4 separate regions of the Homo sapiens genome follow, and all the other regions are linked to region 3. Evidence: promoter capture Hi-C in human tissues and cell types (Jung and others, 2019). All regions are on one chromosome and are shown on one strand. The core of a region is centred on a gene start or on the middle of the fragment in contact, and the rest is flanking DNA. Distances in the headings are between cores, read along the strand shown. Region 1 overlaps RPS6KA5 (ribosomal protein S6 kinase A5). Region 2 overlaps DGLUCY (D-glutamate cyclase). Region 3 holds the start of CALM1 (calmodulin 1). Region 4 holds the start of RPS6KA5 (ribosomal protein S6 kinase A5).

Region 1 (2,927 bases), core at 226-2,725, 520 kb after region 3:
GGAAAATGTTTTAAAAAATGATTTTGTACACCTCCTTCTATGTAAGGAGTATTAAATTAACACATGCAAGAAAGACATTTAGAGAACAAATATCCAAGTATCCTCAGCACAGAAAGCATGTTATTTCTTAAACTAGTAACCGTTTACCTTGATAATTTAAAAAATTTAAACTTTATATAAATTTTTAAAATTTTAAGTAGGTGATATTTCTTTGGGCTTATGATAGGGAACTAAAGTATTCAGCTCCAGTGAGCCTTATGAAATGTCTAAAATTCAAAGAACAATAAATGAAAAAAAAAACCACATCCAAGGGTATGTTATTTTTTCCTAACTGCCTAAATCAATTTTTCTTATAGAACCTATCACACATAAACCTCAGAGTCTTCACTGATGGGAAGATCTAAAATAATATAAAATAAAATGTGTTCTAATTTGGAAACCAATTTATACATGCAGTTACCTGAACTGAGAACATAGAAAATTATATATAATTTAAAGAATCTTTTATTTTATTTTATTTGAGATGGGGTCTCACTATGTTGCCCAGGCTGGTCTTGAACTCTTAGGGTCAAGCAATCTGCCCACCTCAGCCTCCCAAAGTGCTGGGATTACAGGCGTGAGCCACCATGCCTGGCCTAAAGAATCTTGATGTATTGAAAATTACTTCTTTTGTAATTAGGCAAATCAGAATTTTAATAACTATTGAATAAATGAGTGTACACCAATGAGAAATATTAACTAGATGTTAAAATTTCAAACTATTTGCTTCCAATTTCCAGGGCCTAAGTTTCAGAGAGGTGACAAAATTTATGAGCCTAGAGCTATTAAGAAAATACAGAGTGCTGACATACAAAACACATCAGGCAGACTAAAATCGTGAGAGCAAAGGTATTTACTGAATATTTTCCTCATGCCAGGCACTATGATGAGCACTTTGCATACATTATATCATTTAATAACTGTCAGGTTGTTCCAGGTGTGGGAAAAAATATTTATTGACTAGGTATATTCTGCACCTTAGGTATGTAGAAATTCTAGGAGTAATATAAGATTTTCTTATGTGAAAATTGGTTCCATTAGGTCTCTGAAGATAATTTTCAAATTAACAGGTATAAATTCCTACCAAATTCCCCAACAGCTTCAAAGAATATCAAGAAGCAAACTAAGCCAGCAATTAAACTCTTCCATTAATACAAGCAGTTTGACTGCCATTTGAGTCAGAACCCTCAGAATGTTTTGCTGTTGGATTTGAAACCACATTATTCAACTGACAGAGATCAATAATCAGATTCTTAGCCCTGGGTTCCAAAACCAGTAACACACAAACTTGAAGAACATGCTTTTAAATACATGATTAGTCGTCAGGAAGGAGACCAAAGATTCTCCACAGCCAGATATCTGAACTGCATATGTGGGACTCTGAAAGGGAATGAAGGAGAAGGAAAGATGGGGAACAAAAAGTAGAATACCTTATTTGGATAAAGCTATTAATAAAACAGAAGTGTTAAAAAATGAACAAATTTTGTACCCTTTAATACAGAAAAAAAACCATGACCTAGATTTTATAACATAATTACTTAGAAAGTTTCTTCTAGAATCTTCATTTTGCACATACAAAGGCAAGAGAGGAGGCCAAAAAAATTGAGCTTTTTAGAGGGCTTAGGAAAACAAACTTAAACTATCTAGAACTCAGGATTTTTTCTTTCACCAAGGGTTGTTAAAATATTTATTTCTGTTGGGAAGATAATCAACAGTCTCCAGTGTCTCTGGAAAGTTAAAGGCAGAAACTGGGAATAAGAAAATATCAGTGATTCCCTTTTCATTGACCTCTTAGTGACAGCTTAAAAAGCCAATTATTAACTAAAGGTGATACACATGACTATATGTTTCCGAATGTTTTTCTAGTAGAAATTAAAAATGCCAATAAATACTGTCCAAAACCATTCATCACGACTCAGACAGGAACAATGTGCAGTTTTACATGCCGTGACCCTTCTGTATTGCATTGTGGTTCACTTGTATCCTAAAAGGCCAGGGTCTCATGCAAAAATAAGTAAGTAATTTTCTTTTGAGTCGTTGTCTCACTCTTGCTGCCCAGGCTGGAGTGCAATGGCACAATTTCTGCTCACTGCAACCTCTGCCTCCCGGGTTCAAACATTCTCCTTCCTCAGCCTTCCGAGTAGCTGAAATTACAGGCGCTCGCCACCACGCCCAGCTAATTTTTTATATTTTTAGTAGAGATGAGGTTTTGCCATGTTGGCCAGGTTGGTCTCGAACTCCTGACCTCAGGTGATCCATCCACCTTGGCCTTCCAAAGTGCTGGGATTACAGGCCCTTAATTTTTTAAAAGAATGGAGTCATAGTTTGTACTCTAAGAAATAGGCTCTCTCAACAGAAATAAAATAAAAATTATTTGACTAGTTTGGAGGTCTCAACTTTAACAAGAGTGTTACTCTATAAAATAAAACACAATTCTCACCAATAAAATCTTTAAAAAGGGAAATCTAGAATGTCCTAACCTTTGTATTATCTTTTTCCTCCAAAATACTAGATATCATAATGTGTTCAGGAATACAAAGCAAAAGAGAAAAAAAGGAAGGTAAGACAATCAACACCAGAAAGACGGCTCTGTTGAAGAGATGACCTAAGTTGTTAACTAGGATTCTTATAGTACATTTTATAGAAATACATAAAGAAGCATCAAAAATAGAACATACCTTGTCATGTCCTGAATCTCCCCCTCTGACAATATCTGGTGCCATGTATTCAATAGTTCCACAAAAGGAATATGCTCTTTCAGTCTTGAACAAACAAACAAAAAAGGGATTTGATTTCAAGCTAGTATGACAAGTGACAAAAGAAGAAAGTAATACATGTTAGTGGTTGAGATACACTATAGTGGCAAAGTAGTGGTAGAATCTACTTGA
Region 2 (3,154 bases), core at 592-3,091, 720 kb after region 3:
GACAAAAGCAGGCAGAGGAACATGGAAGGACTAGACTGGCTGAGTCTTTCAGTCTTCATCTTTCTCCCGTGCTGGATGCTTCCTGCCCTCAAACATCTGACTCCAAGTTCTTCAGCTTTGGACTCTTGGACTTACACCAGTGGTTTGCCAGGGGCTCTCAGGGCTTTGGCCTGAGACTGAAGGCTGCATTGTTGGCTTCCCTACTTTTGAGGTTTTGGGACTTGGATTGGCTTCCCTGCTCCTCGGCTTGCAGACAGCCTATTGTGGGACTTAACCTTGTGATGGTGTGAGTCAATACTCCTTAATAAACTCCTCGTCATGTTAGTCCTGTCCCATCTAGAGAACCCTGACTAATACACTTAGTGTCCTCAGCCACGCAAAAGCTGATGACTCGCAGCTCTCCCTCCTCCGGGCAGGTGTCCTTCCTGACTTCTGGTGCTGAATGTCCACCCTGTCATGGACCTCTGCCTGGGGCTGTCTCACAGGCTCCTCCTACTTAGCATTCTAAAACCAAATTCCTCATCAGTCTCTTCTTGTATTTATTTTCATGAATGGCACAGTTAGCTAGTTGCCCATCCCAGGAAAAAGAAATCTGATAATTATTATTATTATTGTTTTTTGAGATGGAGTTTCACTCTTGTCACCCAGGCTGCAGTGCAATCACGCTATCTCAGCTCACTGCAACCTGCAGCCTCTACCTCCTGGGTCCAAGCCATTCTCCTGCCTCAGCCTCCTGAGTAGCAGGGATTACAGGCACCCACCACCGCGCCTGGCTAATTTTTGTATTTTTAGTAGAGACAGCATTTCACCATGTTGGCCAGGCTGGTCTTGAACTCTGTCCTCAGGTGAGCCACCTGCCTCAGCCTCCCAAAGTGCTGGGATTACAGGCATGAGCCACCCCACCTGGCCCTGATAATTATTTGTGATTCCTTTCTTTCGTTGCACCTTTTGCATACATTCAATCAGGTATCAGGTTCTGGCAAGTCTACCTCTTCCAGTTCCTCAAATCAGCCCTTCCTCTCATTCTCTCACTTTGGGGAAAGCCTGGATTGCTTCTCAAATACTTACGACAGAGGGTCTCTGAGGGATGTTCTTCTTCACATTCATCCTCCACCAAGTGCTGCCTGTTCAGGGGATCCTCCTACCCTTAGTGCTCCTGGGGCTCTTAGATGAAGCTCATACTCCTTCAGGTTATGCACATGCTCCCTCCCAAGCATCTCTTTGTCTATCTTCCCAGCCCCTCTCCCTCTTTACCCCAGGTGTGCCAACCACTCACACTGTCACCTACAGAGACTTCTTCAGCCTTTCTCCTAGTGCTGATTTCCAGCTGTCTGTCAAAGCTCATGCAATGTCTCCCAGGCCATACCTGCCTGACACTGTCAACACAGTTTTCCTTGCCTCTTCCTCATTAGCAGCTCCAGTGCTTAAGCACATTTCCCGACACACAGAAAGTGCTCTGTAAATGGCAAAAGAGTGAACTGTATGGCTCTTTCCATGTCCTACTCCACCTCCAATCATGCTACCTGCTCTGTACCTAAGCTTCTGAGAAGACCCTCCTCTCCTGTGGGGATGTCTGTAACTCTTTCTTCAAGAAATAATATTTTTGGCTGGGCGCAGTGGCTCACGCCTGTAATCTCAGCACGTTGGGAGGCCGAGGTGGGTGGATCACCTGAAATCAGGAGTTCGAGACCAGCCTGGCCAACATGGTGAAACCCTATCTCTACTAAAAATACAAAAATTAGCCAGATGTGGTGGCGATCGCGCCACTGCACTCCAGCCTGGGTGACAGAGTGAGACTCCATCTCAAAAATAATAATAATAATAATAATAATAATAATAATAATAATAATAATTTCAAGAACAAACTCAACTAATGTCTTCAGTGAAGGCTTCTCCTACTTCCCCAGCCAGATTTTCATTATTTATCTATCATCAAGTATTTTTAAAATGCCTATAGTGTGCCAGGCACTGTTCAGTATACTGGGGATAGAGCAGGGGGAAAAAAATGACAAAAACCCCTACCCTTAAGAGGTTCACAGTATAGCATGGGGAATTAGAAGTAAGCATCTGTCTCTTCTCTGGTCTTTAAGCACCTCACAGGCACTGGCCATGTCTGCTCATCTGTTTATTCCCATCATCTAACAGAGTGCTCAACACATTTGCTTGATGAATACGTTTTGAGCACTGGGAGATGATCACAGAAGAGCTAAGAAGTGATAGCAGTTGTATTTAGTGGAGAACAGTATTCACACCTTGTTGTCTAGATTGCCTTGAAATCAGGCTCTGTATGATATCTTTTTTTTTTCTCTTAGAAAAAACTGTTAACCTATTTAGAGTAATTTTATTAAGGAGCTTTTTATTTTTTTATTTTTTTTTTTGAGACAGGGTCCCACCCTGTTCCCCAGGCTGGAGTGCAGTGGTTCAACAACCACAGCTCACTTCAGCCTTGACCTCCCGGGCTCCCACCTCAGTCTCCTGAGTAGCTGGGAACACAGGTACGTGCCACCCTGCCCAGCTAATTTTTTATTTTTTGTAGAGATGGGGTTCCACTGTGTTGCACAGGCTGGTCTCAAACTTCTGGGCTCAGTCAATCCTCCCGCCTTGGCCTCCCAAAGTGTTAGGATTACAGGCGTGAGCCATTGTACCTTTAAAAGAAAAAAAGAAAGATTTTTTTTATTTTAAATTAAAAATTATGACATTGCATATCACTGTGAGTGTATTTAATGTTACTGAATTGTACACTTTAAAATGATTAAGATGGTCAATGTTATGTGTATTTTAACTATAATAAAAGAAAAAAGTTTTTTTTTTTTTTTTTTGAGATAGAGTCTCACTCTGTCGCCCAGACTGGAGTGAAGTGGCTCGATCTCGGCTTACTGCAACCTCCACCTCCCGGGTTCAAGTGATTCTCCTGCCTCAGCCTCCTGAGTAGGAGTAGCTGGGACTGTAGGCGCCTGCCACCATGTCTGGCTAATTTTTGTATTTTTAGTAGAGACAAAGTTTCACTATATTGGCCAGGCTGGTCTCAAACTCCTGACCTTGTGATCCACCTGCCTCAGCCTCCCAAAGTGCTGGGATTACAGGCGTGAGCCACGGTGCTTGGCTAGTTCTTTCTTTTCTTAAGGCTGCATTTCATTCAGCAAAGAGGCACTCA
Region 3 (2,937 bases), core at 205-2,704:
AGCTCCACAGATGCTGACGTCTTGTCTAAGGTTATCCCAAGAAGTCCTGTGGCATTTGCAATGTGCCTGTACATTTTTCCTTTTTTAAAAAACATATTCCTGCAGACTTTGTTGAAAGCAGAAACAAACACAAGCAAGCAAAGCCCTTTCTAGCACAGCATGTTAATCACACACTTTGCCATATTCTGTGAAACAGTAAGCAAATGATAACCTCCAACTGTTGCCCGGGCCCTGTAAAACAGAAGATCAAATTCTGTGTTCTGCCTTGGCAAGAAAAGAAACTGCAGCATTTTGTCTAGATTTTTACAAGTCCTGGGGTTCACATTACTGGCTGAAATTGTTCTTTCTCTACTTTACAGAAAAATGGAAAACACTAGTAAACTTAAAGATTTAAATATTATTTTAAAAGGAATATAATAAAAAATGGAAAACACTAGTATATTTAAAGATTTAAATAGTCTTTTAAAAGGAATATAATCAAAACTGTAGTTTAAAATACAATCTAGCTCCATAAGAGAGGCAATTGGCTGTGTGTTCCACTTGTAATGCAGAGGATTTGAAGCATCTATTTTTTCCCTTGTTTCTATGGATTTATGAATAAAGACTCTGACCCTTCTCAGGATCAGGAAAATTACGAAAAATTTAAAGCCTGGGTTTAAGGTCTGTAGAAGCTGCACAGGTACACTAATTTTAGTAAGACGGGCGCCAGGAAAAAGAACAAAATAGTAGGGGAGAAATATTCAGGCATCCTAAAAAATATTCAGTGGAAACGTAAAAACATTAAAGACTGATTAAACATCGCAGCATGACACAGATTTAGCAACTGAGCATAAATAATTTGACTCGGATACTGCTCCAAAATCCGAAGAGGACCAATTTCTTCCAGGAGGACAACTACCTCGTCCTCTGCAGACCCCTCTCCTCGGCAGCTGAAGGAGTGTGGCCAATCTGCCTCCACCTCCCCGCGGACCCCCTACTCTCAGGACCTCCTGCAGCACCCCAAACTGGAAGTGGCCGCTGCAGACCCAAGGACGAGGGGCACGCGGGAGCCGGCAGCCCTAGTGGAGCGGTTGGAGATGTTGAGGTGGGAGGGTCACCCAGGTGGGGTGAGGCTGGGGTAGGTAGCGGAGTGAACGGCTTCCGAAGCTCTGGGCCGCCCCCAGGTTGGACTAAGCAGGCGCTCTGTCTTCGCCCCCGCCCAGGGTGGGCGTCTCCTGAGGACTCCCCGCCACACCTGACCCGAGACCGCGCGCCCAGCCTAGAACGCTTCCCCGACCCAGCGTAGGGCCGCCGCGACTGGCGCGCAGGGGGCGGCGGGAGGCCTGGCGAACCCGGGGGCGGGACCAGGCGGGCAAGGCCCGGCTGCCGCAGCGCCGCTCTGCGCGAGGCGGCTCCGCCGCGGCGGAGGGATACGGCGCACCATATATATATCGCGGGGCGCAGACTCGCGCTCCGGCAGTGGTGCTGGGAGTGTCGTGGACGCCGTGCCGTTACTCGTAGTCAGGCGGCGGCGCAGGCGGCGGCGGCGGCATAGCGCACAGCGCGCCTTAGCAGCAGCAGCAGCAGCAGCGGCATCGGAGGTACCCCCGCCGTCGCAGCCCCCGCGCTGGTGCAGCCACCCTCGCTCCCTCTGCTCTTCCTCCCTTCGCTCGCACCATGGTAGGTCGGGAGTGGCAAATGCCGGCGTAGCAGCTGCCCGAGATTTCTTCCCAGATTTCTAGTTGTTTTGTTTGTTTTTTGTTTGTTTTTGGTTCTTGGAGGTTTTTCTTTTCTGAGTGTTACGCAGCAGCTGCGCTTAAAGGAGGTTGCATTTTGGATTTGCATCTCGGCGACCTCTGCCAGGGAGCTTCATTTATTGGTTCCCCTTGGAGCTGGACTTGGTCGTAGGCCGTCCACGGGCAGGGGCTCCGGCCGCAACTGCAGCGGGGGTTTCTGCATCCAATCCCCCTGCCCCCCGCCCAGCCCCGCACCCACTGCATCCACTAGCGCCGCACCCGGGCTGCCTGCAGCGCAGCGTTTCGGCCTGGGAGCCGGGCGGGGCCGGGCACTAGACCCCCCCCCCCGGCCCGCCCCTCCCCACCCCGCTTCTCCGCCGGCGCGAAGGTGGCAGGTCGGGCGGGCAGTGGAGAATGAATGGGCTGGAGCTGGCCGGTGGCGCACATTGTTCCGGCCGGGTGTTGAGGGGCGCAGTCAGCGCCCGCCACCTCCCCACTTTGGCCGGCCCTGCTGGGCGCCCTCCCTCGGTCGCTCTCCCCTCCTTCTTCCCGGGGGGCGCGGCGCGGGCGTGGGCTGGGAAGGAAGGAGCCGGGGAAGGGTGGGGTTGGGGGCAGGAAGGCGAGGGGTTGGGGGCGGAGAGGGCGGAAGCGGCGGCCGGGCCGCCCTGCGCCCGGGCGGGGCCCTGCGGTGTGGCCGTGGCTTGTTCCTGCCGCTTTCGCACCCTGCGGCCCCCCACCCAGTGCAGCAGTGCGGGCGGGCGTGAGCCTCGGTGCACCAGGAGGCACTTCCCGCGGGAGGCGCTGGGCTCGCGCTAATTGGGGCGGGGGGGGGGGGCGGCGGGGGAGGAGGGAACTGGCGCGCGGCTTGGTTTCCATTAGAGACGCAAAGTTTCTGCTCCGGGAGGAGGCGGCGGCGCCGCGGGCTCGTCGCCTGGGGGAGCAGAAGCGGGTGGGAGGTGCGGGTGGCCTTGGCCTCAGCCCTGGTGCGCGGGGGCCGGGGGTGGTGACCCTCCTGGCCGAGGAGGGGCGGCGTCCAGACGCCCGCTCGGGGGCCGCCTTCCCCCCCACGCCTGCCCCCGGGCACGCGCCCTGCCCGGTCCCTCGCCCCGCGCCACTTCCAGTCCGCAGAGAGATGCCCTCCACGTTTCTGCTTTCTCTGCAGCCTCTAGATTGCCAGATGCGACTGTGCGCCTCGCTGGGTGTGTTTTCCACAGCCCCTTCC
Region 4 (3,217 bases), core at 441-2,940, 660 kb after region 3:
CTTTCCAATCTGTTCAAAACAGAAACAAGATGTACTAGTGGACACCTGAATCCTGCCGTTTAAGCTTTTGTGCCTTCACAATTAAATAATAACCCGGCCGGGCACGGTGGCTCACGCCTGTAATCCCAGCACTTTGGGAGGCCGAGGCGGGCGGATCACTTGAGGTCGGGAGTTCGCGACCAGCCTGACCAACGTGGAGAGGACCGCCCCCCCCACCCCGCCCCCACAAAAAATACAAAATTAGCCGGGCATGGTGGCGCATGCCTGTAATCCTAGCTACTCCGGAGGCTGAGGCAGGAGAATCGCTTGAACCCGGGAGGCGGAGGCTGCGGTGAGCCGAGATCATGCCACTGCACTCCAGCCTGAGCAACAAGAGCGAAACTCTGTCTGAAAAAAAAAAAAAAAAATCCCAATATGCCAAAGCAGCTCTGTCAAAAACCTTCAACGCTCACAAACATATCTAGTAATAACGAACGACTCATTAAAATGTACTATCTGTTCAGAGAAAAAAGTATTAATATATCTACAATACGAGACTGGGCTCCAAGAATATAAATCCAAATTGTACTGATTGGTCTGAATAAGCATTTTCCAAAATGAACAACCTGAACCTACACCACGAATACATTTAATTAGTTATAAAGCTTAGGACAACGCTAGTGATCTCAAACATTAGAACGTAAGCGCTGAAGCCTGCTCGTTAGTTCCTTTTACCTGGAGCTTTAAATTTCTAAAGCCATCATCTCCAGGGACCTCTGAAGGAAATTCAAGGCCAAGTATAGTATTTCATGATAAGTGAGAATAAAGGCACTCAATCCCTGGAGCCGGCGATTCCTGTTCCTGTCTCTAGACTGGACTCGGTAAAAGCCCGAGGCGAAACCTCCCGTTTATCTCCTACAGGACCCCAGCACCTTAGGGGATGGCTCCACAGAGCCCCACCGGGACCCCCCATCGCGGGGACCAGAGGGGCGGAGGAGGGAGACACTCTCCAAAACAAAGCGCCGCTCGCCCCACGCGGAGGCAGGCGCACCTTTCGCCCTGACAGGACGCAGACACACGTGTGTCACCTGTGCGGGAAGGGGGAGCAGCGACATCCTCGGAGGTGCGTGCCACGGGCAGCGGTCGGCGGCTGCGCTGGCCCCGATGCCTGGTGCCCGCCGCTCATTCCCGGGCTGGGGAAAACTTTCGGCCGCCTCCCCCAAGGCGCGCCCCCACCTCCCGGGACCCCCGGGGCACGCGCCCCGACCGCGACGCCCCGCCCCAGGCCCGCCCCTCCGCGCCCACGGCTGCGGCCCCGCGCCCCCAGCCCCGCGCGGGCACCCGCGTGCCCTCAGGCGCGCCCCCGCGCCGGGCCCGGCCGGCAGAGGGCGGGGTCGCTCACCAGTCCGCAGCTCGTGCTTGACAGTGAGGAGCTGCTCTCCTCCGTCGCCGCCGTCCGCGCTGGTCCCCGCGGCGCCGCCGCTGCTGCCACCCTCCTCCTCCATCTTCTCCTTTTTTTCCGATCCCGCGGGTCGCTACGAGGGGAACCCAGGAGACAGCGGACGCCCGTCCCCTCGCAGCCGCTGCCGCGGCCCCAGGAGTCGGGGTGCGGCGGCTCCAGAACTCGGACGCAAAGACGAGTCTCTTTCCCGCTCTGGCCGCACGGCTCGCTCCTCGCCTCCTCCCCCTTCGGCGGGCACCGCTAGTACCGCGCAACCAAACCGCCCCCTGCTCCACCGCCGCCTCCTCAGGCCGCTCCGCCCACAGCCAGCAAGGTAAGGGAGCCATTCGAGCCGCCTTCGCTGATTGGACACAGGGCGCGCGCGTCTGCCAACGCCGGTTCCCATTGGGCAGTACGCTGTGACGTTTCACGAGCCTCCCCGCCTCGCTCCTCGAATTGTTGTTGCTTGGCGGGGAGGCAGGAGAGGGAGGAGCGCCGCCACTCCGATTGGTGAGACCCAAAGCTCTGCCCCGCCCATTTCCTCTGGTGCGCACTCGCAGTCAAGACCTTCCCTTCCCTGACCTCCCCAGAACGGTCACACCCCTTATTCCCCAGCTTCGATCTGTTAGTAAACAGTGTCTAGTAGTCAGGAGGCGCTCGGGGTCTCTGATTGGCTACTGCCGAAAGAGGCGGGGAGGGATGATTGGAACGTTTGGTCCGCCAATCACCGTGGACAGAGGAGGGGCCTGGAGGGTAGCGCTTATCACCCACGTGTTTGCAGACAAACCTAAGGGTCCCGGCAGCGATCCATGCGTGTGTGACAACCAGCGAGACGGCGTGCCCTAAAAAGGTCTTACTCGCTCTAGTGAACCCTAAACAAGTTAAGCAGAGTGTTTGTTCTTAAATAACAGATAGTTCTTAAACGTTACAAAAATTCACAGTCCCAGCTCCCGATGAGGAATTTTACGAAGGAGAGACATTTCTGTTTCGTACAAGACTCTTACTAGGCGCCGAAAGGATGCAGAGATTAACAAAATAGAATACAATTCCTCCCCTAAGCAGCTTTCAATAGAACGTGAGAAACAATCTGTGTGTGTACACAAAAGAACTATAAAGCAGAATTTGAAATAAAGCAGTCGTACAAAGCGTTAGAGAATCTCGCACGGATGGCAATAATTATTCCCAGACGAGGAACTGGGGAAAGCTTTTAGGGCAAGGAGGCATTTGAGATAACCAACGTAAAGGATGGATAAGAGAGAAATACCAGCAATAGACATTCCACACAGAGAGAGTAACTGTGAGCATTGGCCTACAGCAGAGAAGGCAAGGGTGGGTTAAGTGATTGATAAGGTTAGATGAAAGTATGATGTAAGAGATACAGCTGACAAGGTGAGGTGTGGTAAGATAATGGGGAACTAGGGATGCTGTGCTGAAGAGTGCAGATTTTTTTTAGTACACAGTGATGAACTGAAAAGAGGAGAGAGATAGCAGGGCAGGAATCCTGCTGCAAGGATAGAACTAAAGGGAACCTGATTTCTAGTAGCAGACACGAGAATGGGAAAAAGCAGAAACTTAAAGATGTACAGTTGGACGTAATTCAGATAGATGTGATCTTTTAAACTAAGCATGGATTGGATCAGGAGTCAGCACACTTTTTTCTATTAAGGGCCAGATAGTAAATATTTTAGGATTTGCAAGCTGTATGACCTTTTTCACAACTACTCAGCTCTGCCATTGTAGCGCAAAAGCAGTCATAGACAATAAATAAAAGAAGTAGCTGTGTTCCAATAGAATATT

What was found. The method cuts DNA at HindIII sites, captures the fragments that hold promoters and counts their contacts. A contact is called where the count stands out against the background at its distance.
Region 1: a fragment that was not itself captured here is called in contact with the fragment with the promoter of CALM1 in region 3 in 1 of the 25 tissues and cell types used here (spleen).
Region 2: a fragment that was not itself captured here is called in contact with the fragment with the promoter of CALM1 in region 3 in 1 of the 25 tissues and cell types used here (dorsolateral prefrontal cortex).
Region 4: a contact is called between the fragment with the promoter of RPS6KA5 here and the fragment with the promoter of CALM1 in region 3, in 1 of the 25 tissues and cell types used here (dorsolateral prefrontal cortex).

What each region holds. Positions count from the first base shown.
Region 1 is chr14:90,920,396-90,923,322 of GRCh38, forward strand. RPS6KA5 (ribosomal protein S6 kinase A5) reads right to left here. Exons shown (of 17, transcript NM_004755.4): 6 at 2,718-2,801. Among named protein-coding and RNA genes, the nearest start is that of LINC02321, 94 kb to the left of the region's middle. The HindIII fragment of the contact is 8,054 bases long and covers 1-2,927 here.
Region 2 is chr14:91,119,802-91,122,955 of GRCh38, forward strand. The region is part of intron 1 of DGLUCY (D-glutamate cyclase); the gene reads left to right. Among named protein-coding and RNA genes, the nearest start is that of SNORA11B, 5.0 kb to the right of the region's middle. RefSeq lists an enhancer at 1-743. The HindIII fragment of the contact is 7,327 bases long and covers 1-3,154 here.
Region 3 is chr14:90,395,575-90,398,511 of GRCh38, forward strand. It overlaps CALM1 (calmodulin 1), which reads left to right and starts at 1,455. Exons shown (of 6, transcript NM_006888.6): 1 at 1,455-1,659. The coding sequence starts at 1,657. RefSeq lists silencers at 1,147-1,566, 1,847-2,006, 2,017-2,566, 2,647-2,716, 2,757-2,826 and enhancers at 1,251-1,545, 1,667-1,716, 2,887-2,937. The HindIII fragment of the contact is 12,028 bases long and covers 1-2,937 here.
Region 4 is chr14:91,058,951-91,062,167 of GRCh38, forward strand. It overlaps RPS6KA5 (ribosomal protein S6 kinase A5), which reads right to left and starts at 1,691. Exons shown (of 17, transcript NM_004755.4): 1 at 1,382-1,691. The coding sequence starts at 1,484. It also overlaps a transcript of DGLUCY not described here. RefSeq lists silencers at 1,144-1,213, 1,284-1,413, 1,784-1,843, 2,064-2,193 and an enhancer at 1,421-2,001. The HindIII fragment of the contact is 3,623 bases long and covers 355-3,217 here.